Regions from separate parts of the Homo sapiens genome. Here regions 1, 3, 4, 5, 6 and 7 are each linked to region 2. Evidence: promoter capture Hi-C in 16 types of primary human blood cells and fetal thymus (Javierre and others, 2016). All regions are on one chromosome and are shown on one strand. The core of a region is centred on a gene start or on the middle of the fragment in contact, and the rest is flanking DNA. Distances in the headings are between cores, read along the strand shown. Region 1 has its middle 24 kb from the start of SMCHD1. Region 2 holds the start of EMILIN2 (elastin microfibril interfacer 2). Region 3 overlaps SMCHD1 (structural maintenance of chromosomes flexible hinge domain containing 1). Region 4 overlaps NDC80 (NDC80 kinetochore complex component). Region 5 overlaps MYOM1 (myomesin 1). Region 6 has its middle 51 kb from the start of LPIN2. Region 7 has its middle 3.9 kb from the start of LPIN2.

The links. The method cuts DNA at HindIII sites, captures the fragments that hold promoters and counts their contacts. A CHiCAGO score of 5 or more calls a contact.
Region 1: a fragment that was not itself captured here is called in contact with the fragment with the promoter of EMILIN2 in region 2 in 1 of 17 cell types (monocytes); the score reaches 8.1 in monocytes.
Region 3: a contact is called between a fragment that was not itself captured here and the fragment with the promoter of EMILIN2 in region 2, in 3 of 17 cell types (monocytes, M1 macrophages and M2 macrophages). The highest score is 12.3, in monocytes.
Region 4: a contact is called between a fragment that was not itself captured here and the fragment with the promoter of EMILIN2 in region 2, in 1 of 17 cell types (monocytes). The highest score is 6.7, in monocytes.
Region 5: a contact is called between a fragment that was not itself captured here and the fragment with the promoter of EMILIN2 in region 2, in 1 of 17 cell types (activated CD4 T cells). The highest score is 5.7, in activated CD4 T cells.
Region 6: a contact is called between a fragment that was not itself captured here and the fragment with the promoter of EMILIN2 in region 2, in 1 of 17 cell types (monocytes). The highest score is 5.0, in monocytes.
Region 7: a contact is called between a fragment that was not itself captured here and the fragment with the promoter of EMILIN2 in region 2, in 1 of 17 cell types (monocytes). The highest score is 5.9, in monocytes.

Annotation. Positions count from the first base shown.
Region 1 is chr18:2,630,239-2,633,681 of GRCh38, reverse strand. No RefSeq gene overlaps it. Among named protein-coding and RNA genes, the nearest start is that of SMCHD1, 24 kb to the left of the region's middle. The HindIII fragment of the contact is 9,719 bases long and covers 1-3,443 here.
Region 2 is chr18:2,845,627-2,849,440 of GRCh38, reverse strand. It overlaps EMILIN2 (elastin microfibril interfacer 2), which reads right to left and starts at 2,435. Exons shown (of 8, transcript NM_032048.3): 1 at 2,119-2,435; 2 at 1,510-1,632. The coding sequence starts at 2,252. RefSeq lists silencers at 1,458-1,547, 2,168-2,217. The HindIII fragment of the contact is 11,570 bases long and covers 1-3,479 here.
Region 3 is chr18:2,664,636-2,667,992 of GRCh38, reverse strand. SMCHD1 (structural maintenance of chromosomes flexible hinge domain containing 1) reads right to left here. Exons shown (of 48, transcript NM_015295.3): 2 at 1,761-1,836; 3 at 962-1,123. Among named protein-coding and RNA genes, the nearest start is that of SMCHD1, 11 kb to the right of the region's middle. The HindIII fragment of the contact is 611 bases long and covers 1,585-2,195 here.
Region 4 is chr18:2,600,802-2,604,178 of GRCh38, reverse strand. It overlaps NDC80 (NDC80 kinetochore complex component), which reads right to left. Exons shown (of 17, transcript NM_006101.3): 13 at 2,694-2,783. Among named protein-coding and RNA genes, the nearest start is that of NDC80, 31 kb to the right of the region's middle. The HindIII fragment of the contact is 745 bases long and covers 1,221-1,965 here.
Region 5 is chr18:3,096,382-3,100,101 of GRCh38, reverse strand. All of the region lies in intron 25 of MYOM1 (myomesin 1), which reads left to right. Among named protein-coding and RNA genes, the nearest start is that of LPIN2, 85 kb to the right of the region's middle. The HindIII fragment of the contact is 5,489 bases long and covers 1-3,720 here.
Region 6 is chr18:3,062,432-3,066,259 of GRCh38, reverse strand. No RefSeq gene overlaps it. Among named protein-coding and RNA genes, the nearest start is that of LPIN2, 51 kb to the right of the region's middle. The HindIII fragment of the contact is 809 bases long and covers 1,883-2,691 here.
Region 7 is chr18:3,015,195-3,018,942 of GRCh38, reverse strand. No RefSeq gene overlaps it. Among named protein-coding and RNA genes, the nearest start is that of LPIN2, 3.9 kb to the right of the region's middle. The HindIII fragment of the contact is 3,648 bases long and covers 1-3,311 here.

The sequences.
Region 1 (3,443 bases), core at 197-2,696, 210 kb after region 2:
GGGAAGCGGTCAAATTTTAAAGCTCCAAAATGATCTCCTTTGACTCCAGGTCTTACATCCAGGTCATACTGATGCAAGAGGTGGGTTCCCATGCTCTTAGGCAGCTCTGCCCCTGTGGCTTTGCAGGGTACAGCCTCCCTCCCACCTGCTTTCATGGGCTAGTGTTGAGTGTCTGCAGCTTTTCCAGGTGCATGGTGCAAGCTGTCGGTGGATCTACCATTCTGGGGTCTGGAGGATGGTGGCCCTCTTCTCACAGCTCCACTAGGCAGTTCCTCAGTAGGGACTCTGTGTGGGGGCTCCGACACCACATTTCCCTTCTGCATTGCCCTAGCAGAGGTTCTCCATGAGGGCCCCACCCCTGTAGCAAACTTCTGCCTTTGCTATGGCTATGCTATGCCTGGGTATCCAGGTGTTTCCATACATCTTCTATAATCTAGGCAGAGATTCCCAAACCTCAATTCCTGACTTCTGTGTACCTGCAGGCTCAACACCACGCAGAAGCTGCCAAGGTGTGGGACTTCCACCCTCTGAAGCCACAGCCCAAGCTGTACGTTGGCCCCTTTCAGCCATGGCTGGAGTGGCTGGGAACAGGGCACCAAGTCCCTAGACTGCACACTGCAGGTGGGCCCTGGACCCAGCCCACGAAACCACTTTTTCCTCTTGGGCCTCTGGGCCTACGATGGGGGAGGCTGCCGTGAAGTTCTCTGACATGGCCTGGAGACATTTTCCCCATGGTCTTAGGGATTAACATTAGGCTCCTTACTACTTACGCAAATTTCTGCAGCCGGCTTGCATTTTTCCCCAGAAAATGGGTTTTTCTTTTCTATTGCATAGTCAGGCTGCAAATTTTCCAAACTTTTATGCTCTGCTTCCCTTATAAAACTTAATGCCTTTAACAGAACTCAAGTCACCTCTTGAATGCTTTGCTGCTTAGAAATTTCTTCTGCCAGATATCATAAATCATCTTTCTTAAGTTCAAAGTTCCACAAATCTCTAGGGCAGGGGCAAAATGCTGCCAGTCTCTTTGCTAGAACATAACAAGAGTCACCTTCACTCCAGTTCCCAACAAGTTCCTCATCTCCACCTGAGACCACCTCAGCCTGGACCTTATTGTCCATATCGCTATCGGCATTTTTATCAAAGCTATTCAACAAGTCTCTAGGAGGTTCCAAACTTTCCCACATTTTTCTGTCTTCTTCTGAGCCCTCCAAATGGTTCCAACTTCTGTCTGTTACCCAGTTCCAAAGTTGCTTCCACATTTTGGGGTATCTTTTCAGCACTGCCCCACTCTATTGGTACCAATTTACTGTATTAGTCCATTTTCATGCTGCTGATAAAGACATATCCGAGACTGGGAAGAAAAAGAGGTTTAATTGGACTTACAGTTCCACATGGCTGGGGAGGCCTCAGGATCATGGTGGGAGGTGAAAGGCACTTCTTACATGGTGGTGGCAAGAGAAAACGAGGAAGAAGCAAAAGCAGAAACCCCTGATAAACCCATCAGATCTTGTGAGACTTATTAACTATCAGGAGAATAGCACGGGAAAGACCTGCCCCCATGATTCAATTAACCTCCCCCTGGGTCCCTTCCACAACACGTGGGAATTCTGGGAGAGAAAATTCAAGTTGAGACTTGAGTGCGGACACAGCCAAACCATATCACTGACTTCCTGAGTATCTTGCTAACTCCTATGTCCTCACAATCCTTTTTATTGATTTCAAGTTGTTTCCCTGGGAGATCTGCCTTTCTCCTGAATGGTTTGACCCCAAGTGACAACATATGAAGAAAAATCTAACAAATACCGATGAAAGCCAGCATGGTATAGTAGTTAAGAACTGAAGTCAGATTGCCTGAATTTGGATTTTGCCATTTACTAGAGAAGTTTGCCATTTGCTAGAAGAACTGGGTAGATATATTTAACCTTTCTGTTTCTCAGACTGTCAGTGATCAAGTAGATAAAAAATAAATAAATCACAGAAGAACTTAGTAATTGATAAGATAGATCTGGTTGATAACATGCCAATGTATACATCCTGAAATCTGAATATGCTTTCCTTTCCATTGCCCACGAACACTCACTAAAACTATTAGGCCATAAAGAAAAACCTCAGCAAGGTCCAAGCAGAATAGTGAAGACAGCATTCTGTGATTACAATGCAATACAACTAGGAATTCATAAAGTTTGGGGGTTGTGTGGGGTGGGAATTCCTTCTATGTGGAAATTCAAAACTATTTTAAACAGTTCTTACAGCAGAGAGAAACCACTAACTGAAACTGTAGAAAATGAATACACAGCACATAAAAAATGTGATATGCTACTAAAGTAGAAACCAGAGGAAAATTCATAGGTTTAAATACTTATTTTTTTAAAAGAATTAAGAATGTAATCAAAATTTAGGGGGAAAAACAACAAAATAAATGGAAGCAAAGCAGAAGGAGTGGGTTAGTAAAGAAAAAAGCAAACATTTAGTAAGATAGAGAACAGAAAGACAGAAGTGTTAAGTTAAAACAATTTTTTTTTTTTTTGAGACAGGGTCTCGCTCTGTCACCCAGGCCGGAGTGCAGTGGTGTGATCATGGCTCACTGCAGCCTCAAAGCCTCAATCTCCTGGGCTCGAGCGATCCTCCTACCTCATCCTCTGGAGTAGATGAGACCTCAGGCATGTACTGTCATACCTGGCTAATTTTTACTTATTTATTTTATTTAAATTTAATTAATTAATTAATTAATTTTGAGACGGAGTCTTGCTCTGTCGCCAGGCTGGAGTGCAGAGGCACGATCTCGGCTCACTGCAACCTCTGCCTCCCGGATTCAAGCGATTCTCCTGCCTCAGCCTCCCGAATAGCTGGGACTACAGGTGCACGTCACCATGCCCAGCTAATTTTTGTAATGTTAGTAGAGACGGGGTTTCACCATGTTGGCCAGGATGGTCTTGATCTCCTGACCTTGTGATCCACCTGCCTTGGCCTCCCAAAGTGCTGGGATTACAGGTGTGATAATTTTTTTTAAATTTTTTGTAGAGACAGGATATCACTATGTTGCCCAGGTTGGTCTTGAACTCCTGGGCTCAAACGATTCTCCCACCTCGGCCCCCCAAAGTGCTGGGATTACAGGTGTGAGCCACCACGCCTGGCCAAAAAAAGGCAATGTTTGGGGATGGGAAGCACAAATTCCCCAGTGGGTCATTCAGAGTGATGCTAATGGAGCCACTTTGGTTCTACTCCTCAGTTCCCATTCCCACATATCCTTCCTACTGGGGACACAGCTCCATAAAGAGTCTCTGATTTAATACACGTGTTGCAGCCTATGGAATGATTCCTTCAGAGAGTTTCCTGGAAGATGGCATTTCAGTTGCACCTTTGGATGTCTGTTCCAACATTCTAGAAGGCAAGTACATGATGTGACCAGTGGATCCCATGGTCATAGGTTCACTCCTGTATTT
Region 2 (3,814 bases), core at 1,186-3,685:
AAGCCATCTTTTAAACAAAAATGCATTACCTCCCAAAATGAAAAATTCATTTATCTCCGAATTGTCACCAGTAAGTTTTAAGGTTATAGCAAGCCACACCATGCAGTTCTTGTATAAGATGAATAAAATATTCCTGACTAATAACTCAATTCTAATTTTAAACAAATGCATTCAAACTGAGTTGAATACTTAGTTTGTATCACTCCCACAGTGTAAAAACCTTGCTTGGTTCTGATGTCGTTGACTGCTGGCCATAGACGATGAGGTCTCAATCTTACTAAGAGATTAAGGTTGGATGACAGTACCTTATCTCTCTGACAATGTATCCAACTCAAAGAGATAGCCTAGCTGGGCATTCAATTTCAGCGTTTTCCACTGTATATTAGGAAATGGGGACCTCGTCTAAGTTTCTGTTTGTTTTACTTTGTTTTTGCCGAGCAGGAATTAGCTGAACCCTGTTGGCAGCTCCTCCAGAAGCCCACGTGGGGTGGACCCAGCGACCACTTCCCATAAGACTACAGGCTCATCTACTGTTCTCTGGAATAAGGTTTCCTGGAGTACAAGTTCCAGTCTGTCCCTTGGTTTTGCCAAAGACAGATCCGCCTACTGACTATTCTCTGCTGTAATGACAACTGTGCTCTAAGACAAACAACTTATTCTTAGTGGAAAACAATTAATTTCAGCCATCACATGTGTTCCTCAACAGCCATTTATTCACACTGGCCCATCTTCCGGTATCAGACTGATACAAAACCCCCAAAGACTTGCCTGATGACAATTGAATGAGTGTCATGTATTTAACGGCATTTGTACTTTATTGCATTGCTTCCTGTTTTTTTTTTTTTTTAAGATGGGGAAATCTTTATAAGCAAAAAGATGATTAATTCTTCCCCCTGTCTTTAACGGCCATTCTCTCCCACAATCTCTAGAGAATCTCCAAATCTAAGTTGCGGGGAGGGATGCTGGGGAGCCACACTTTTAAGCAAAGTGTTCCTGAGGTTTTAGCTTAGACATCTACAAAACTGGAAGATTCCGTTTTATGGGGACATACGGACAGAACTCACTCGTTTTAGAACACTACTTAGCCAAACCTCTCAGCGAATCCTATACGGAATAGTCTTTAGCAGTATACATTTTGGAATCTTCTGTGTGCCCCAGAACACACAATATGGATCCAATTAGATTCAGCTGCCTTATGTTACAAACAAACATTGAAAGGGAGAAAACAGAAGTGGGAGTGGGAGCTTTGTTCATCCTCTCCTACGCCCCCGCGACCCCACACTCCCGAGGCGCGCGCATCCTCCCCACTCACTCGGGCAGCACCCACTCCCTAAATAGCCCAGCGTGGCCGGTGCCCCGCGAGCGCTCGGAGCGCTTTTCCGCTGCGGGCTTTTCACCGGATCTGGAAGGGATTTACCGGAGGGACTGGAGCCCAGCGCAGCAACCCCACCCCACCCCCACCGCCCCGGCCCGGGCGCGCCCCGCCCGCTCCCCGGCTCCAGGACTTACACCAGCGCCGACGGACAGGGCATCTGGTTCCAGGCACAGTTGTACTGAGCCTGAATAAAACTCTCACTTCCCTCCAGCACGGAGCAGCTCACATTCTTGTTCACGATGTAGGCGCACCAGTTCCTGGGGTGCAGGAGAGAGAGGGAGAGGGGCACGGGGTAAACCCGGAGAACAATGAGGCCAGGGGAGAGGGGACTGCGGCACCAGACCGAGCGAGGGTCGGGGGGGCCCGTCGCCCTCTGCGGAGGCGGGAGCTTCACCGAGCAGACGCCGGAGGGTGCCCGGGTGCGCCTCTGGAGAGCGCGCGCCTGGACCCGACCAAGACGGGAAAGAAAAGCACCCATGGTCCCAGGGGCTCATGGAATTCCTGGGAGTCGTTTTCGGATCGCCCGGGTCTGCGGGACGCTCTCTGCGCCCACGCCCCCGGAGTCAGCTCTGCCTGAGGCGCCGGCTGCGGAGCGCGCGGTCCCCCGCAGAGGGAGCCGCCCGGGGAAGTCCAAGGGAGGCCCCCGGCTGCCGCTCGTCGTCTTTGGCAGGGCAGCTCTGGGGCTCAACTGGGGGCCGGGGAGGGGTAGGCGGTTTGGGGCCAGCCAAGGGGCGCGCACTTACTTGTTCCTGGCGCTGGGCCGCGCGGGATACCCGGGCTGCGGGCCGGCGTGGCACAGCCCCGCGCCAACCAGGGCCAGCAGCGCCAGCGCCCAGCGCCAGGGCACGCGGGGCCAGGGCCGTCTGGGCTGCCACATCCCGCGCGCAGCGGGCGCGCCCCGCCTGCCCGGGTCCGGAGCGCGGCGGATCGGGGCACCGGCCACAAGGCTGCCGGCGGCCAGGGCGCCGCCCGCGAAGGCAAGAGGCTCGGGCGCTTCGCGGCGCTCCAACCAGTGCTCCGCGGCCGCCCCCTCCGGCTTCTCGTTCCTACTTCTCCTTCTGCAGCCCCGTGCGCCCTGCGCTTCTCCCCGGTCCCTCAATGACGCACAGGTCCCCCCGGGTGCCGCCCTCTTTATTTCACTTCCCTCTCCGAAACGTGACTCTCCCCCCACCAAGTCTCCCCGTCTCCAGTCCCTTCGCTTCTCGGCAGGGGGCTCGGGGTGGAGGGGCGAAAGGGTTTGGGATAAGGGTCTACGTTACAGCATTTCCAATGACTCATTCCTTTGGTCTCTTCCCAGATGCCGAGCGACTCCGCCTCCCACCTTCCGACAGGCTCGCTCCCGGCCCCCCGGGACGCGGCCGCCGTCGGCGAGTCTGGCCGTCCTCGCGTCGTGCCTGGGTGCCAGCCTCCCGGGGCGAATGAGGGACATGTTTATCAGTCCCGCGGGGAGAGGAGTGGGGGCTCGACTCGAATTTCCTCCTCGGGCAAGACAGGGCCGTTCCCCCACCAGCTCCATGGACCTAGAGAGTCCAGGAGGAAACGAACGCTGGTTCTTTCTTTGCCCAACTCTGCCTTAGGCACCATCTGACAGTTTCCGAGGCCACGCGGGGGGCGGCAGGACAGGACAAGCCACAGCCCCGCCAATTCCCAGAGGCTGCTGCAGCTCAGCGTCCGGCTCTATCACTTACTGCAATTCTCCTCCAATTCTTGAAAGGTGATCTCACAGCCTCTGCTTCTGAGGTCCCACTGTGAACTTTCTTTTTCTATTGAAACTAAGGCATTTACTCACGTTTGCTTCTTAACAGTTCAGGCACTGCTAGACATCCGTCTTAAACTTTCTTGTATGTTTTCTGCCTGTTGTTGAGTTACACTAATCTCTACCGATGTCTTTTTGGGATGAAGTACCAGAATGTTAAGTAAAATCACCACCCAAGTGTTGTATTCTAAGGGGTGTTGGAGAGAGCTGTGTGTTTGAGATGACCTGCTGCATCTAATCAATGTACAGGGTCGTGAGTGGCGTGGTTACCAGACTCCACAGATAAAACTGTGGCCTCTGTGAGCTAACCAGACGCTGTTGGCCATGACTCGTTAAGTGAATAAAGCTTTGCTATGGGCCAGGCGGGGTGGCTCACGCCTGTAATCCCAGCACTTTGGGAGGTCGAGGCGGGTGGATCACCTGACGTCGGGAGTTCAAGACCAGCCTGACCAACATGGAGAAACCCCGTCTCTACTAAAAGTACAAAAAAAAAAAAAAAATTTGCCGGGCACGGTGGCACATGCCTGTAATCCCAGCTACTTGGGAGGCTGAGGCAGGAGAATCGCTTGAACCAGAGAGATGGAGGTTGCAGTGAGCCGGGATCTCACCACTGCACTCCAGCCTGGGCAAAAAGAGTGAAAATCTGTCGCAAAAAATAAAAAATAAAAACGTTTGCTATGTTC
Region 3 (3,357 bases), core at 641-3,140, 180 kb after region 2:
CAGGAGAATCACTTGAACTTAGGAGGCAGAGGTTGCAGTGAGCCAAGATCACACCACTGCACTCCAGCCAGGGTGACAGAGAGAGACTCTGTCTCAAAAAACAAAAAAAGAAAAAGAATACTGTTCAAATAAATTATATTACCTAAATATTATCAAAATATACAGAGACATATATATTAAAAGATGTTCACTTTATTTTTAAACAAAATGTAGGTTAAAGAAGTATGCACCATATAAAACCATTAAAAATCAAATAATATGAAAAGGTCTGAAATGATAAACACCAAAGTGTTAGTGGTGGTTATGTCTGGGTAGTAGAGATATTCTTTATGTTCTATTTGCTTATCTATGTTTTCTAATTTCCTGCAAATACACATATAATGAGAAAAAAATAATTTTAATACAAAAGTTTACGATGAACATGTAAGTAGTATTAGACACTTTGGCAAGTCCTGAAAGAGAGGATTCAGTAAACTAATTGATTTGTAAAGATCACTAGCAAATGGTCCAGAGAAAGGACAGAAACTAGCAAGTAGTAAAGGTAGAAAGAAATGATAAAGACATGGAAATATGAACACAAACTTCTTACTTACGCAACCTAGCTATATGTATTTGCAAAGTAAAACAAGTATTTTCTTAATTGGGAAAGGTCTATGGGAGGCTAGGAAATCAGGAGAAGAGAGTATACAGGCGATGGAAAGCTGTATAGGTCAAGACCCCTTATGAGTTGAAAAGAAAAGTTCTACTAGTAGGTTAGCTTTAAAGGAGAGTTTTTTTTCACTGAAGATGACACAGGTAGAAGACATAATAATACCGTGATGAATTTGAGTAAGAAAGAAAATGAGTGGTCTTCTAATAAAGTGTAATAAGAAGATTTACAAAAAGTGAAGGAATGGGATACGTAATCAGGGGATAAAGGCAGGTAATAATTTATCAAAATTAGTATGAATGGGATACTTACGCAAAGGATTTTGTCCTTCACTGGCATAATATTCATACATGCCACTTTTAACCAGTGTGTCATAGTGAGGTAAGAAGTCAATTCGTTCTTTCGTAGCTGTCAGTAGTAACTGATTGACCGACTGTAGCAGGTATAAGGTGACTCCATCTTTAACAGTTTCATCTGTAATCAAGAGTGAAAATCATAAGTGCTAGGTCAGCATCAGAAACTCAATGAACTTATAATTGTGAATATACAAATTCTATCTATGAAATATCTTTAATGATGGTAAAGAAAAACCCCCAATCATCTACCTGTAAGCAAAGTCATGTTAAGGATATTAATGAAACAAGCACAAATACTTCCTTCCATTCATTTGAAACACTCAATTCTTAATAAGTTAAACTATCACAGGAAATCAGACGAGAATCTAAAATAGCGTAGTGTCAACATGAATGGAGAATGGTTAAATTCAGATGGAATCAGGCATGAAAAACCAGCAGGTCTTGGAAAACTAATTAGGTTAAAAAAAGATAATGGAATAATCCAAGTTGGTTAGCAAAATTAGCTTCAGAAGATTTGTGCTAGGCAGAATCATCTTCTGTAGCCATAACTGATATCAACTATTTTTCTATAATCAAGCTTGAAAAATATAACCTCTGTGCAGACTATGCACATGCAGCCAGTTTCCTCCCTCATCCCAACAAATTAACAAAAGTCATCAACAGATTTAGATGCATATCTAATAAAAGTTATTGCTATATATGTACTAAACCTTATTAAATATAAAAGCATCAACTTAGTAACACTGTTTACCTACCAAAATTATCACAGGTAATTTCTTTCCTACTTGTTGTTGTAATAACAAATTTTTCTTCAGGTGAAATGCCAAGTGTCTATCCAAAATAAGAAATAAAATCACTTATTACACAAAGGAAATAAATGTATTATTCAAATTTATAAAAATATGAAAATATTGATAGTACATTATAATTCTGTAACCACTACACTTATCTAGGAAATACAAAACTCAGTATATCTAAATTTTGCCTTTGCATAATTAATAGTGCATAAATCTATATAAATTACTTACTTAACAAGGTCATTTTTTCTGCTACTATAAGCAACCTAGGAACACTAGTGATTAGGTGGAACGTTTTAAAAGCATTTTAACATCATCAGCAGGACCCACCCAGACAAAAGACATAGTATTTCATACTAACGTACAAGTTATCAACTTATTTGGAACAAAGCTTTAACATAACTCATGTTCATATAGACTAGATATTTAAGTATGCAAAAACAAAATAGAAGAAAACAGAAGTTAGCATTTTATAGCACGGAGGGAAGAACAGCCATGCTTTGTAAGACATACAGGTCCATTCAAACGAATAACTTTAAAAATTAAAGCAAATTATAAATTAGAGGGAAACTGGCCAGGCATGGTAGCTCATGCCTGTCATCCCAGCACTTTGGGAGGCTGAGGCCGTCGGATCACAAGGTCAGGAGTTCAAGACCAGCCCGACCAACATGGTGAAACCCTGTCTCTACTAAAAATACAAAAATTAGCCAGGTGTGGTGGCGCACACCTGTAATCCCAGCTACTCAGGAGGCCAAGGCAGGAGAATCACTTGAACTGGGGAGGCGGAGGTTGCAGTGAGCCAAGATCACACCACTGCACTCCAGCCTGAGCAACAGAATGAGACTCCGTCTCAAAGAAAAAAAAAAATTAGAGGGAAATTGCAACAAGAAACAAAAGGGTGACAAGGATCAACAAAGAGAAAAAGTAAAAACACAAAAAAATGAAAAGGAGAAAATACAAATGACCAATGAACACATGAACTGTAAAATCACATTAATCAAAAAATGAGAATTAGAAAAGTGGTTAACATTTTCATTTACATTAGAATTAAAACATACATGCTCTGTCTAAAATGAAACAATACAGCAATATATAGTTAAGAGAAAAGGCTTCTGTTTCGGGTAGTAATGGACTAGTCTAAAGATTAACATTCTTATTGAAAACATCTAAAAAATCTAGACTAGTGATACTCAAATCTTCAAAAATGATATTAATAAAAACCATTATTGCTCACCACTGGGATGAGCTAGGGCACCAACTTGTCACTCTGAACACTGACAAATTAAAGGGAAAGAACAAATTATTTACACTGCTTTTCTTGTATCAATGGTACTTCAGGATAACCAAAATAGCTCTGGCTGATGAGGCAAAGTTGTTCCTTAAAGAATTCCAGCTAATAAACACAGGAGGAATGGCAAGTCAGATCAAAACTTCCTTATGGAGGAATCCTGCTGAAATCACGTGAATCCCAAGATTTTAATGTTAGCATTGCTATGAGTGGGTGAAACACCCACACATCACGTGCCTCCCAGTGTAATGCCATATGAAGTATCAG
Region 4 (3,377 bases), core at 344-2,843, 240 kb after region 2:
TTTTCATGCCCATCTTCCCACTTAAAATGAAGTTCACAAAGGCAGATGCTGCACTGTACTAGTATCACCATCTATTACAGTACTAGGCACATAAGCACTCAAAAAATATTTGCTGCATAAATTTCAGTTTCAAATATTTAACTTTAACCTTTATTTACATTCATATTCATAAGTGTGATTAGCTTAATTTCTTCTTTTTGTAATATCTTTGTCATGTTGTGGTATGAGGCCTACATTAGCCTTATAAATGAATTAGGTCTCTTTATGCTCTATGATAATTTACATGTCACAGAAATCATCCAGTCTTCAGTATTTGAAAACAGTGACCTATGAAATTATCCGTTATTGGAGTCTTTTGAAGAGCAAATTCTCTTTTTCACTTTGGTTTCTGGTTACTTACATATTTTGACTTTTTTGGGATTTCTATTGTTCAGGTTACAATCCATTTCATCAAAAAATTTTAAACATAAATTTCTGTTTATACTATATTACTTCATAATTCAAATAAATTTCCACCATCTCTATAAACTATTTCTCATTTTATATTTTCCTGCTTTTTCTTAAATGGTTTTGGCAATTATTTTAAAATACTTTTCAGGTTAAATGTTTTGTTACTCTAATTTATTAATTTCTTTATAAACTTTATTATTTCCAGTTGCATTTTACCCCATCCCATCTTAACTTAAACTACTTGTCCAATAGGAAAAACAATTTTAGTTGTTAGTCTCTGTATGACATTACTGATCTCTCCCTTCTTGAAAAGTTTTCCCTACTTTGGCTTATATATATTACATAGGTGTATATATATATATATATATATATGTATAAACATATTCTCTTCTGTTGTTCTCCAACTAATTTTGTCCACTTTTTCTAAGAGTTTTTCCCAGAATCTCCTTCCTTTGCCGGTCCCTTAAATGTTGTTACTCTTTAGGATTCAATCCTCTGCCACTTTCCCCTCCACATTCATCCACATATATGGCTTCAACTATTACATATGCTCTAATGACCATCAAATCTGTATTTTCAGCCCTGATCTCCTTCTTACACTCTGAATCTATAGCTTCTGCTTCCTCCTGGATATCCTACAGACAGCAAGCTCAACATCTCACCACACCCTACTTTAAGTTTTCCTCCTTTAGGTTAATAGCACTATGATTCACTCAGTTGCCCACATCAAAAATATGGAAGTCATGTTGATACTTCTTTCTCCTCAAGCTTGCACATGCAGCCATGAAATCCTTGGGTTCTACCTCCTTAACATTTCCTAAACCTGTTTCCTTCCCTCTAGTTCTAGTATACATTGGTTTAAGTCTCCTAACATTTTCAGTTGCATCCCCTCTAAGCCATGTTTTCCTGTAGCCCAAAGGGTTTTGTAAACCTAAAAATCTGATGAGCATAACTGTACCTATGTCAGCCTTTTTCTCTATATGGGAGTGCCTGAAGGATGTATTTATCTCTAGGACACTAACATGGGTCCTAGTCTATAGTAGCCATTTTATAACTTTCCCCCATCTATAGCCTTTAAAAAGTTCAAGACAGTCTAAAAGATGTTTTAGATATGAAGTTCCTGTTGTTTGGAATTCATACCTTTTGAGAATCTCCAGGTTTTAGTACCCATTACAGCAAAAAACAGAAATCAAAATGAAGCAGGCTAAAGGAAGACTTCACTGCAAATAATCATCATTCCCAGGGAGCAGTCCCAGGGAGCAAATTCCTCATCTTTTCTCCATAGATATTTTAGAAACTGCGAATTACAGCAATAATAGTATGATGTGATCAAACTCTTCACTTATCTAATGTTACAAATTTTTCTATTTTTCTGAGAATGTAAAAATTCTAATACAAAGTAAGTCTTGATAGAATTTATTAATATTGGAAAAATGTCTTTCTGTGGGTTACTAGCATAATTATTTGTGAAATGCCATAGGTTTTGTTTCCAGATTGAGAAAAAATAAACAAGCTTCTCTTCTGAGAAAACATAAAATTTCATTTTATATCTTGAAATCTATTAGCCAGATCACAGTAGTTCCTGAAGAGCTGAATTAACAAGGGGTTTCCTTTAACTGCTTGGTGTCCTATAAATGAAATCCTTTGTGTGTGCATTTGAGAAGTAGCTTAACTTTTCTTAACTAACAATGTTTACTTTAAAGGTTACTAAATACAATAATAGAATTTTCCTTTTCAGGGATATAGGTGATATTAAGGATCTCAGAAGCAGAGACTACCTGAAATTCACTTTTGGAAATAGACTTTGAAAGGAATTTGAGTTCTCCTGAAATTCCATGATCCAGAATCCAAAAACTTGGTAAAAAGAAACCTCTTAATCTATCACAGCTAATTAGCTTCTAACGCCGTAATTATACTTGCCTACTTTCAAGGTAGCCACTTGAAGCCTCTTTTAGTATAAAAATATTAAATTATCTCAAGTTAGAGACACTTCTCTATTAAAAAAAGGAAAATTTACTTAGTTTCATCTCGCTTCATCATATGTGATGTGTGAAGGCTAGGATGTTTAAATGTCTTAATAAGTTACTTCAAATATTTCTGTCGAGAGCATACCCAATTCTCATTTTTTCATAGTTTTGTTAAAAAATTAATTCCTTAGCAATCAGAAACCATAAATAACTTTTAATTTTAGGTTTTAAAATCTAATTTTCACTTTTTATGACTTTTTATGTTTTATTACTTACTTGTTCTAAAGTATCCTCCAAACCCATTTTTTTATTTAGGGCTTTATTAATTTCTTCTTCAGTTTCATTCAGGAGTTCCTTAAGAGGTACCTATAAAATACATAGGAATGTGGGTGACATATAACATTTAATTACAAAATATCCCTCCTGAAGCATCTACACACTGTGATAGGAGGAGTCACTTTTGGAGAAAAACTGAAGTTATAACATTTTAAATCTAATATACTGTCAAACAGAAACAAAACTAGTTTTTAATCAAATTTCTGTAAGTGTAGACTATAACCTGCTTTTGGTTTTGAATACTTGCAAAATTCAAGATTTGCTCATCTATCCTGGAAATTCATTGCTATTATTTAAACATTTTACAAGTACACTTAGTTTACTGCAGTATTTTTTTTGAAAACAATTCATATGTAGGTTGTATTTTTATGCTATGTTATCCAGAAGTATCAATTTCTCTTAATCCTTTTCAACTGTTTAGTCTTAGGATTCTCTGCCTGTATTTCTTATGTTTATTCTGTTCTACTGACTTTAACACAGCACTTCATTGCTTGTCATTTTTCTAAATTGAGGTGAAATTCACACTTTAAAATGGTTAAACTGAAATACTTAGGTTAAAATGACGTTAACATACAATTAAACATACAACATAAAATAAACATAAAGTTTAACATAAAATTATAG
Region 5 (3,720 bases), core at 250-2,749, 250 kb before region 2:
GGAATAGATCAGATGACAGCTCTGATGGGATTAAGAGAGAGACTCTTGAGAACATATAATGGAACACACATCAGTAGCTACAGATGTGCTTTCTAGAAGTGATGCCTTTTCCTTTGCGGTTGTTCTCCAGAGATACCAAGGATACTAACATAGAAAATATATCCCATGCTCCATTACATGGCGAAGTGTCAGGCTACACAGGTGTAACATCTGAGTAATTAAGTTCTTCACTTTTTGCCCACATATGTTGGAATCACATATATATTTTCTGGATATATTCACTTATATGTCTTTATGCAAACTAATCTTTTCCTAAGTAAGATTGGCACTTAAAAGCAGAATCATACCTCTAAATAAAGACAATATAAAGACAGTGCCTACCATTTTCAACTCCTGGAAAATTGGGCAAACATGCCTTCGTCAGAAAAAGAATCCCTCTGAACAATGTACAACCCTTCAATAAAGCACCTTCTACATAAAAGATTAAATTCCACACTTGACACTAAGAGAAGAGAAGGAAGTCAGAAATGACCCTTGGAAGGTTCCACTGGCCAGATGGGGGGATCTCTTGCCATTAGTACCCACTGGCCAAGGTAGTGAAGCATCCAGAAAGTTGCACCCTGGAGTTTGAGAAAACAAGTAGAAAGTGATAGTATACACCCATTCTTTTTAAATCAGAAATTTTAATACTTAAAATATAAATCCTCCACTAATAAAGGAGTTTCAGGAACCCAGAAAACTATATTCCTATTCCAGACTATGGACAAACAGCCTTTGTATATTGATATATGTGCATTTTTCTAGGAAGAGTATCCTTCACTTTTAGTAAATTCCCCAATGGAGACTGTAATTTAAAAACACACACCACTGCTCTAGAATGAATTGCGGACCTTCTCTTACATCTGCAAGGAGTGACTTGTTTGATAGTGAGGCTGAGTGCTGGTGATATTGGCCTCAGCTGTAATGTTCTCAAAACCAACTTTGGCTGGGCACAGCGGTTCACACCTGTACTCCCAGCACTTTGGGAGGCCGGAGCGAGAGGATCACTTGAGGCCAGGAGTTCAAGGCTGCAGTGAGCCATGATCACGCTACTGCACTCCACCCTGGGCAACAGAGCGAGTCCGTATCTCTAAAAACAAAAACTAACCCAACTTTGTTCAGCAAAGTAGCAGAGTGGAGGGCCCATGAGACACGACTGTAGGGCGCAGACTTCTAAATTCTAGGGAAGAACCCTCTATGCCACCATGTGGCATTAGGCAAGCCATTTCTCATCTGTATGCTTATTCACCATAAAACTGGAAAAGTAATATCATGAGTGAGGTTTCAAATGTTAATTTTGAAAAAGTTTATGGAAAGTACTAAAGTGTATTGCAAAGTGTTTGGACTGGACTCTCTTTGTTCTGGACTTTTGACTCAAGCTGTGCGCCTGGGCAGCTCACTTTTATTTCTCTGTGCCTTGGTTTCTTTTCCAGGAATGGCTATCACAGTGGTTTATAGCACCTCCCATATAGAAATGCTGTAAGAGGGTGGGGTGTGGTGGCTCACACCTGTAATCCCAGCACCTTGGGAGGCCAAGGTGGGTGGATCATGAGGTCAGGAGTTCAAGACCAGCCTGACCAACATAGTGAAACCCCATCTCTACTAAAAATACAAAAAATTAGCTGGGTGTGGTGGTGGGCGCCTGTAATCCCAGCTACTCAGGAGGCTGAAGCAGGATAATTGCTTGAACCCGGGAGGCGAAGGTTGCAGTGAGCCGAGATCGTGCCACTGCACTCCAGCCTGGGTGACAGAGCAAGACTCCATCTCAAAAAATAAAAATAAATAAAAATAAAATAAAATAAATGCTGTAAGAGATAATAAATATGGTATTGATGAATCCATGAACTATTCAGGAAAAATATGAACATTAATTGAAACAGACCAGTGATCCCTGAACCTGCTGCCCAACGCAGAAGTCTCCAAGCTACATAAGATGGTTGTACTTTCTACTCTCGAACATTGACAGAAATGGGGAGAAACAGCAGCACCTACTAATCTAGTCAGATAATAAACATTGATTAAGTGTCTAGACAACAACTAGTCCAAACAACATTTACATTCAGCTTAAAGGTTGGAGATGAGAGAAGATGGGGTGTCACTTTTGAGCTCAAGATGCCCAGGCCTCCCTGGAGTTTAGTGTTCATATGGACTTGGAGAGAGAATTAGTCCGGGCAGTAGGCATTGCCTGATGTCATTATCATTTATGCTGAGATATTTTATCTTGCATAAGCCCAAGAACTCTGATTATTGGTGCTACGAGAGAGGGTAGCAGCAAACTCAGTTATCCTTTTATTAGAGACCCAGTGTCGCATTTTGGTAGAGAGACCCTGAGAATGTGATTAAAACTCTGACATTCGGCTGGGCAAGGTGGCTCATGCCTGTAATCCCAGCACTTAGGAAAGCCAAGGCGGGAGGATCACTTGAGCCCAGGAGTTCAAGACCAGCCTGGTCAACATGGTGAAACCCTATCTCTACAAAAATACAAAAATTAGCCAGGTGTGGCCGCAGCTCCTCGAGAGACTGAGGCGGGAGGATCACTTGAGCCCAGCAGTTGGAGGCTGCAGTGAGCCGTGATCATGCCACTGCACTTCAGCCTGGGTGACAGAGTGAGAATCTGTCACAAAAAAATGAGTATAAAAATCACAAAATAACAAACTCTGACATGCAAGTATCAGAGCCCCCAACCCAAGGGTGTTTTGGTTAACCCAAGGAAGCAACATTTTTCAATACTAAAACTCCAGCTCTTTTCTTTCCCCTACCACTATCAGACCAATGAGGTCACAAGGTGAATATCTTCAGAGGTCTGGTGGTAGGATCAAAGTAGCACATGCAATTTCTTGATTCATACCCACTTCCTGTTGGTAAATGCTGGCATGTTGATGAAGTCGTTTTCTTGAGATTTTGTAAAGTTTTAAACTGTCTTATTTCTTAGAGAATGTAATAAAGAGTATAGTATTCCTTTATCCTTTGGCACAGTAAATTCTCCTATTTTAAGCTGTTTTCAAAATTATTTTGAAAACCACTAAACACGTGCCTTAAACCTACAAATAACATATTTCGCTGAGGCACATTAACTGCCAGAGAAAAGAGCCTAAGGAAATTTGGAGCTGAGTAAATAGAAAAAATAGAAATGCACAAAGCTAAAAATAGAAATCGACTTAGTCTATCTTGCCAGTATTGATACTAAATTGCAGTGTGGAAAGATAGCTTATTTGAATATATATCCATACACCAAGAATTCAAGGTATTTTGAGGGGGTGGGTGGAGGGTACACTTTGGTATTATCAGCATGCTGCATAATAGCCCTTCATTTGCAGACACCGGTTTTTACCCCTCTTGTATACATGCACTATATGTGGGGAGGCAAGCACAAGCACGTATACATAAATACAGATATGTTGGTGTGTCCTCTTAGGTGTCAACATATTATATTCTAAAATTAGTGGTTGTAAAATTTAACCAGGTGTGGTGGCTCTCGCCTGTAATCCCAGCTACTCTGGAGGCTAAGGTACAAGAATCTCTTGAACCTGGGAGGTGGAGGTTGCAGTGAGCCGAGATCATGCCATTGCCTAGGTGACAGAGTGAGACTCCATCTCAAAAAAAAAAAAAATGGTGTTTCTAGGGTGTTGTAGAAGCAACTAGAGGAGGAGAGAGATAACAAAATATTAACAGCCAACATTA
Region 6 (3,828 bases), core at 1,038-3,537, 220 kb before region 2:
TTTTTTTCTGTTGGGTGCAGTATCTCACACCTGTAATCCCAGCACTTTGGAAGGCTGAGGCGGGAGGATTGCTTGAGTCTAGGAGTTCAAGACCAGCCTGGGCAACACAGCGAGACCCCTCTCTACAACAAATTTTAAAAATCAGCTGGGTGTGGTGGTGCCCACCTATAGTCACAGCTACTTGGGAAGCTGAGGTGGGAGGATCATTTGAGCCTGGGAGGTCAAGCCTGCAATGAGCCATGATGGCGCCACTGCACTCCAGCCTGGGCAACAGAACAAGACCATCTCATAAAAACAATTTTTTCCCCTTCTTTCTCCTGCCAAAGGTAGCGGATGAGACAAGAAATTTCCTTATACAGTTGGCAGGGGCTCCTACACACCCTCTCCTTTACAAGTTTAAGGCTGGAAATTGCTTCTCATCTGACTGTGGCCAATCCACTTGTCCAAACAAGTGCTGGATGCTGCTGCTATGACACTGAACACCAGGCAGGAGCCAGATGCTGTGTTCTCACTCCCAGATATGGCAAGGAGATGAGCTTCCCAAGGGTCAAGCGGACCCCATGGAAGGTGGCTGGCCATGAGCAGTCTGCGGTTCTGCCTGCCTCAGTAAGAGGGCTACATCTGAACAAGCTGACCCGGAAGGAAACTGCCAGTGGGTGGACACCTGCTGGGGAGCTAAAGATGGGAGGGTGGCGGGGTGGGGGTGGGGGTGGGAAAGGTTCAAGCGGCGGCAGACCTCCCATGCCAAGGGCCAAGGGCTGTGCAAGCGAGAGGCCCCTAAGACTCTCCGAAAAGCCCCCACCACACCCCTCAAAAAGCCAGCAACAGAGCTCCCAGTGTCAGAGAGGTGAGGTTTCTGCAAGCAGCACCTCCCACCCCTTCCCTAATTTCCACCTGCTGGATCCCAGACTGGGGAGAAAGCAAGACGGGTGTTGAATCAGGTGGAAACAAAATTTTAAAACAGTGTATTCCAAATTCTGAAATTGTGCAAAAATGTATGAAATCAAAGTGTGCCCTAAGACCCCTGCGCCCAGCAGAGGGGTTTGCTGGGACACAGCAGCAGTGAGTTGGGGAGATGGCTTTTGTGTTCGGAGCTCCATACGCTGAGATTGCTCAACAAAACAGCTATAAGAATTATTTCAGCCATTATTATGACCAAACTAAACCAGTGACCTCAAGATTTAATAGCTTAGGTAAAAAGCTGCTATTTCTACAGGGGAAAATAGAACTGAAACTATAGATCCATCACTTTAATGGTGCCGAAGATACTTTGTAACACATAAAAATTTATGAATCTGTGACCTGGTAAATGTGAAGTAGTGGTACTTAAAGGATCAACTTGGAACACAGAAAAGACCATTCAGAGTTTACTTCAGTTTTATAAAATTAATATATAGGCTGGGGTGCAGTGGCTCACGCCTGTAATCCCAGCACTTCGGGAGGCCGAGGCGGGCGGATCACCTGAGGTCGGGAGTTTGAGACCAGCCTGGCCAGCATGGAGAAACTCCATCTCTACTAAAAATACAAAACTAGCCGGGCGTGGTGGCACATGCCTGTAATCCCAGCTACTCAGGAGGCTGAGGCAGGAGAATTGCTTGAACCCAGGAGGCGGAGGTTGTGGCGAGCCGAGATCTCACCATTGCACTCCAGCCTGGGCAACAAGAGCGAAACTCCATCACAAAAAAATTAAAAAAATAAAAAAATTAATATATATATATATATATAATAGTCAAGTGACACATTTTAAAACCTAGATCTTCCTAAATTCTTGAAGTTCAACTTTAAAACATTATTTTTCCATTTAAAAATCTGACTATTGAAGAACATTAAGTTTAAGGCTGCTTTTTATAGCATAACTTAATTCCCTTTAATTTGTTAAGCTTTATTTATAAATTAATATATTTTCTCTCCACTTTAAGGACTACTATTGTCTGACTTAAACAAAACTGTCTCAAGAACTTAAATAACTTTATCTACTAAACTAAGTATATAAATACAGAAAATTTGGAGTTTTCATAAATATTCTCATATTGTATATAAACCTAGTAAGATGAACATAAAATCACAGTCAATTAAACATTTTACATTGGAATCACAAAGCTGGAGGCTGGGTGCAGTGGCTTACACCTGTAATCCCAGCACTTTGGGAAGCCCAGGCAGGAGGATCACTCGAGCCCAGGAGTTTGAGACTAGCCTGGAGAACATGGTGAAAGCCCATCTCTACAAAAAATCCAAAATTAGCTGGGGGTGGTGGCACGAGCCTGTAGTTCCAGCTACTCGGGAGGCTGAAGCAGGAGGATCGCTTGAGCCTGGGAGGTCAAGGCTGCAGTGAGCTGTGATTGCACCACTGCACTCCAGCCTGGAAGACAGAGTGATACTCTGTCAAAAAAAAAAAAAAAAAATTGGACTTAGTCACTAGGCTAAGACATTTCAAGTACATGAAAATCAAATATGCACAGCCTACATAATGCAGAAATACTAATTTTTGCCTAGATATAGCCTCTAAGATCTGGGACTGGAGTTTTAATACACATGCCAGAATGAGAGATGTAGACCTGGATTGTTCAAGGTAGTGAGTTGGTACCCAAGATGCCTGCACAAATCTGAGATGCACAAAGAGTGGCTTAGTCAAAACAAAAATGGGAATAGTAAAAATATCACCAACTGACATAGAGAAGCTATACAGAAGCTTTCCATCTGCCTGGGGGCGGTTCTGGATGGAAGAAAATTTAATGGATTCCTCAAACTAGTACTGCATGTTTGTGGGGTGCAAATTTACAGCACCACATGGTAACAATCTCAAGCCAAGAATTCCCATAAAAATGGTCGAGGTCCGGGGCCTCAGGGAAGCAAATGCAAAACTACGCTAGACGGGATTCTCTGTCTGCCCACAAAGGATTACTGTTATGGAAATTGTCCTCCCACCATGAACAACTAGAAAAACAGGCAAAATATCAAAACATATGGAAAAATAACCGTTTAGGGCATTGGCCAGCAGATGTGCAGGCCCAAGATGCCTGAGAGAAGGGGAAAGTGATGAGACACCTGTGATTGCTCCAGCTTCTTCTTGCCTAGACAGAGTGCTCAGGCTGCAGCCCAGCAGGGGGAGCCTGTCAGTCTCATTGAATTGAGGGGACAGAGACTGAGGTTCAATGAGGCGGGGTCGTCTAAAATGTATGAGAAAGAATAAGAGAGAGAGGAGAGTTGCACGAAGACAGGGTGCTGGAGGCTGCACATGCTCTTTGGCTGAGTACTATTCAGCAAATGCACGGGAGAAAGAAATCTGGAAAGCCTCAGGCCAAGCAATTCTTGGAGCTCACGCGGGCTGGAAACAGAGTCCGTGTCCACCAGCCGGAATGAAAAGACTTTGTAATACGTGGGCCTCGGGTAGAGTCCTCAGAAGTTTCTCCTCCATAGTGGGGCACTACTAAGGTGAGAAATTAATCCTGGATTAAAAACTCCTCTGGCCCCACCCTAACAGAGCTTAAAAGCAAGCCTCAAGAGGATCAAATATCTACAACAAATCGAGTGTCAGAACAAGGTGCAGCGCATTTTAAATGAACACACTGGCACGGTCTCAGGTGTTCATTAGTTCTGTTCTGTGGGCCTGCTTCACATACCCACAGCAAGATGTTTAGATAAAATACTAATACATCAGTTATATGGAGGATTACAAACTGGATACATAGTGACCATCACATCACAGCCTCAAATATTTGCATTTTGACCTCTACCTTGGGCTTTAGAGATAAGATTATGTTTAAAAAACAGTCTTAAGTTATTTAAATTGCTTCTGAAGAATCAACTGATATATGTAAATGAAAATCT
Region 7 (3,748 bases), core at 238-2,737, 170 kb before region 2:
CACCATGCCCGGCTAATTTTTTTTTTTTTTGGTATTTTTAGTAGAGACGAGATTTCACCGTGTTAGCCAGGATAGTCTCGATCTCCTGACCTCGTGATCTGCCCGCCTCGGCCTCCCAAAGTGCTGGGATTACAGGCGTGAGCCACTGGGCCCGGCCGATTCTTGTCTTAATTGCATTGTGTTCAGAGGATATAGTCTGTATGATAAACATTTTCCTTTCTTTCTTTTCTCTCTCTCTTTCATTCTTCTTGAGACAGGGTCGTGCTCTATTGCCCAGGCTGGAGTGCAGTGGTACAATCTGGGCTCACTGCGACCTTGACCTCTTAGGCTCAATCAATCCTCCCACCTCATCTTCCCGAGTAGCTGGGACTACAGGCACACGCTACCACAGCCAGCTAATTTATTACATTTTTAGTAGAGATGAGGTCTCTCTATGTTGCTCAGGCTGGTCTCAAACTCCTGAGCTCAAGCAATCCTCCCAAGCTCAAGCTATCTTCCTGATTTGGTTTCCTGAAGTGCTGGGATTACAGTTGTGAGCCACTGCGTCTGGCCAATGCATTCAAAATTTTCAGATTTGTTAAGACTTGCTTTATTTATTTTATTTATTTATTTATTTAGTTTTTGAGATGAAGTCTAGCTCTGTTGCTCAGGCTGGAGTGCAGTGGCCCCATCTTGGCTCACTGCCTCTGTGTCTTGGGTTCAAGTGATTCTCCTACCTCAGCCTCCTGAGTAGCTGGGACTACAGTTGTGCGCCACCACACCTGGCTAATTTTTGTGTTTTTAGTAGAGACGGGTTTCACCATGTTGGCCAGGCTAGCCTCGAACTCCTGACCTCAAGTGATCGGCCTGTCTCGGCCTCCCAAAGTGCTGGGATTACAGGTGTGAGCCACTGCACCCGGCCTATATGTGTTTTATATGTTCATATGTTACCAGCTTTAGTGAGGTTTCTGGGTCGGCTTGAGAAGTAATTTTTTTTCTTATTCTACTATTTTGCTTTTGCAATTCTGTATTTATTGGGTCTTCTATTAATCTCCCTACTTAAAGTACATGCTAACCTTTACTTCTGCTGCACAAAACTCCCAAGGCTTCAAAAATCAACGTTCAAACTCACTAGATTCAGCAAAAATCCTCCAGGCATATGCTGACTTTGGGCTCGGCTTACCTCTCTGGGTTCTGACCTTCACCCTGTCCTGGGGCAATTTCTTAATTTCTTGCCAGTTTATAGATGCCTTCCAGAATATATTTTTATTATTTTGCCCAGTATTTTTGTTTTTGTTTTCAGTGAGGGAAAGTTGGTCTAGACACCCAGCTGAGCCTATCAGATGAAATAGAAATCTTCACTTATTTTTCATCACGTATTTACTCAGCACCTACTATGTGTATAATAAGTACTATAATTGTGATCTGTGCAAGGTGGACTAGAGGCATAAGAAAAAATACATCGACTGGGGTAGGGCAGTAGGGCAATTGAGGGAAGGTGGTGGGAGGTAGTTAAAAATACAGGTTTATGCTGGGCCTGGTGGCTCATGCCTGTAATCCCAGCACTTTGGGAGGCTGAGGTGGGCGGATCATTTGAGGCCAGTATTTCGAGACCAGCCTGGGCAACATGGCAAAACCCCATCTCTACTAAAAATAAATTAAAAAAAATAGTTTTGGTTCATTCATTTGATGGCTAAATAATAACTTTTTTAGAAAGAGAAGAAAAAAATATGGGTTTAGGAGTCAAGGAGGGCTGGAGGCAAATTCTATCAACACTGCTGACGAGTTGTGAGATCTGAGGCAAGTTACCCAACATCTCTGTGCCGTAGTTCCTTCCTCTGTAAACTGGTGTTAATGATAGAAGTTGAATTACTAGAAGAGCTGGGCACACAGTGATGGTACAGAAAATGCTAGCTATTCTCTGTCCTCACAGAGAAAGAGATGCAGAAGCTGGGAATAACAAAGCTATTTTTCTAAGGTTGAATCACCTCCCCTGGGAGCTGCCAGACAGGAGGGCATAGGACCACCTCCTTCCAACTCCAGGTCGGGGATACTTGATTCTTATTCTAGAGAAAATCCTTCTCTGCTTTCCAGATTCCCTCAAAGATATGCCTTCTCCCTGGCCCTCTCCCCCTTGACTGAGACAGGTTCCTCACTGAGCATAGTGTTTTGGAAATAAAAGACAGGAAGGAAATGTCTTGCAGACAACTTCTGCTTTCCACTCTGCCAACAACCTCCTGAGACAAGCAGAATGCCTGGGTGCATTCTTATAAGGAGAAGAAGAAAGAGAGAACTCTAAGGAAAAACACAGAAGTTAATATATGAAAAATTATTCTTACCAGCTACTGTGGCTCAAGCCTGTAATTCCAGTACTTTGGGTGGCTAAGGTGGGAGGCTCGATTGAGCCCAGGAGTTTGAGGTTGCAGTGAACCGTGATCACACCACTTCACTTTGGCCTGAACAACAGAGTGAGACCCTGTCTCCAAAAAAAAAAAAAAAATCCTGTTGCAAAAGGGATGATGGAATGGCTGAAGCATACAGACTAGAAGGAGCAGGAGAGAAAATTAGAGAGAAAAGGAGCACACTGGATGCCACGCTAGGGAACTTGGCTTGCTTCGTCAAGACAATGGGTTGCCAACCACCTGTGCCATGGCCAGGTCTGCAATTCAGAGTAGAGGATGCTTAGAATTGGGCAGGACTAGAGGGTAGGGAGACCAGCTGGCATATTCCTACAATGGACCACAAGAGAAATGGCGAGGGCCTAATCACAAGCAGGGGTGAGTGGTGCGACAGAGGACCAAGAGTAGGAATCATGAGGAGGAATAATGAGGAGGAGTGATGGAAACAGCATGGGAGTAGAGGGAAATGAGACTCCCTCCTAGGTTTCTGGCAAGTATGTCTAAACAGATGACAGCGCCATCAGCCAGGATAGGAGATTCAGGTGGAGCAGGTTTGAAGAAGCACAAATAATGGGTTTGAATCTGACATCACTGTGGACCTTGCTGGTTGAGACGTTGAAAGCCACTGAGCACAGGCATGTAGAATTCAGAGGAGTTCCCACTAATGAGGGGAGGAGAGAGTTTCAAGAAGGAAATAATGATCAACAGCATCTTGCCCTGCAGAGATCATGAGGCATGGGACAGGAAAGGGGTCTGTTTTCTTCGGCAACCAGAAGGTCATAGTGACTTTAGCCTGAGCAGTTTCAGGGTTAGAGGAGGAGCAACCCTGTGAAGATGGGAGAAAACCTGAAACTCTTTCAGGTAGCTTGGGTGGGAAGAGAAGCTGTGTGATAAGTCGACAGCCTGAGGGGGAACGGAGGGGCCACAAAAGCTTCTTTTTCAAGTGCAGGAATGAAGCCAGAATTGAGGAAGAGGGGACAATTAGTGGAGTGAGGTTCCTCACCTTGGAGCTGGAAGGTGGTGGGTCAGAGGCCAGTTGAAGGAAGCGCTTTCTTCCTCTGACACTCCAGTGGAGTAGGTGGACCTGGGGTGGCCCCTCCACACTTCCTAGGGCAGGAGGTGAAGGGATTTATCATGCAACAAACATTTAATGAGTCACCACTTAAGTGGTAGTGTAAGCTGGTGGACACGGGAAAATGAGGAAAATATTAGCAATATGAACCAATCGTTCTGAGTGAGGTCTCAAACGCAAGGTTGTTTGGAGGAAGGGAGGGGAGCTCTAGGGCTTCCTGAATGATGAAAGGAAGGAAGGGAGCTTGGCAGAATATTTCCCTCCCAAGGCAGAGATAGAGAAAATAGCCTGAGAGAAA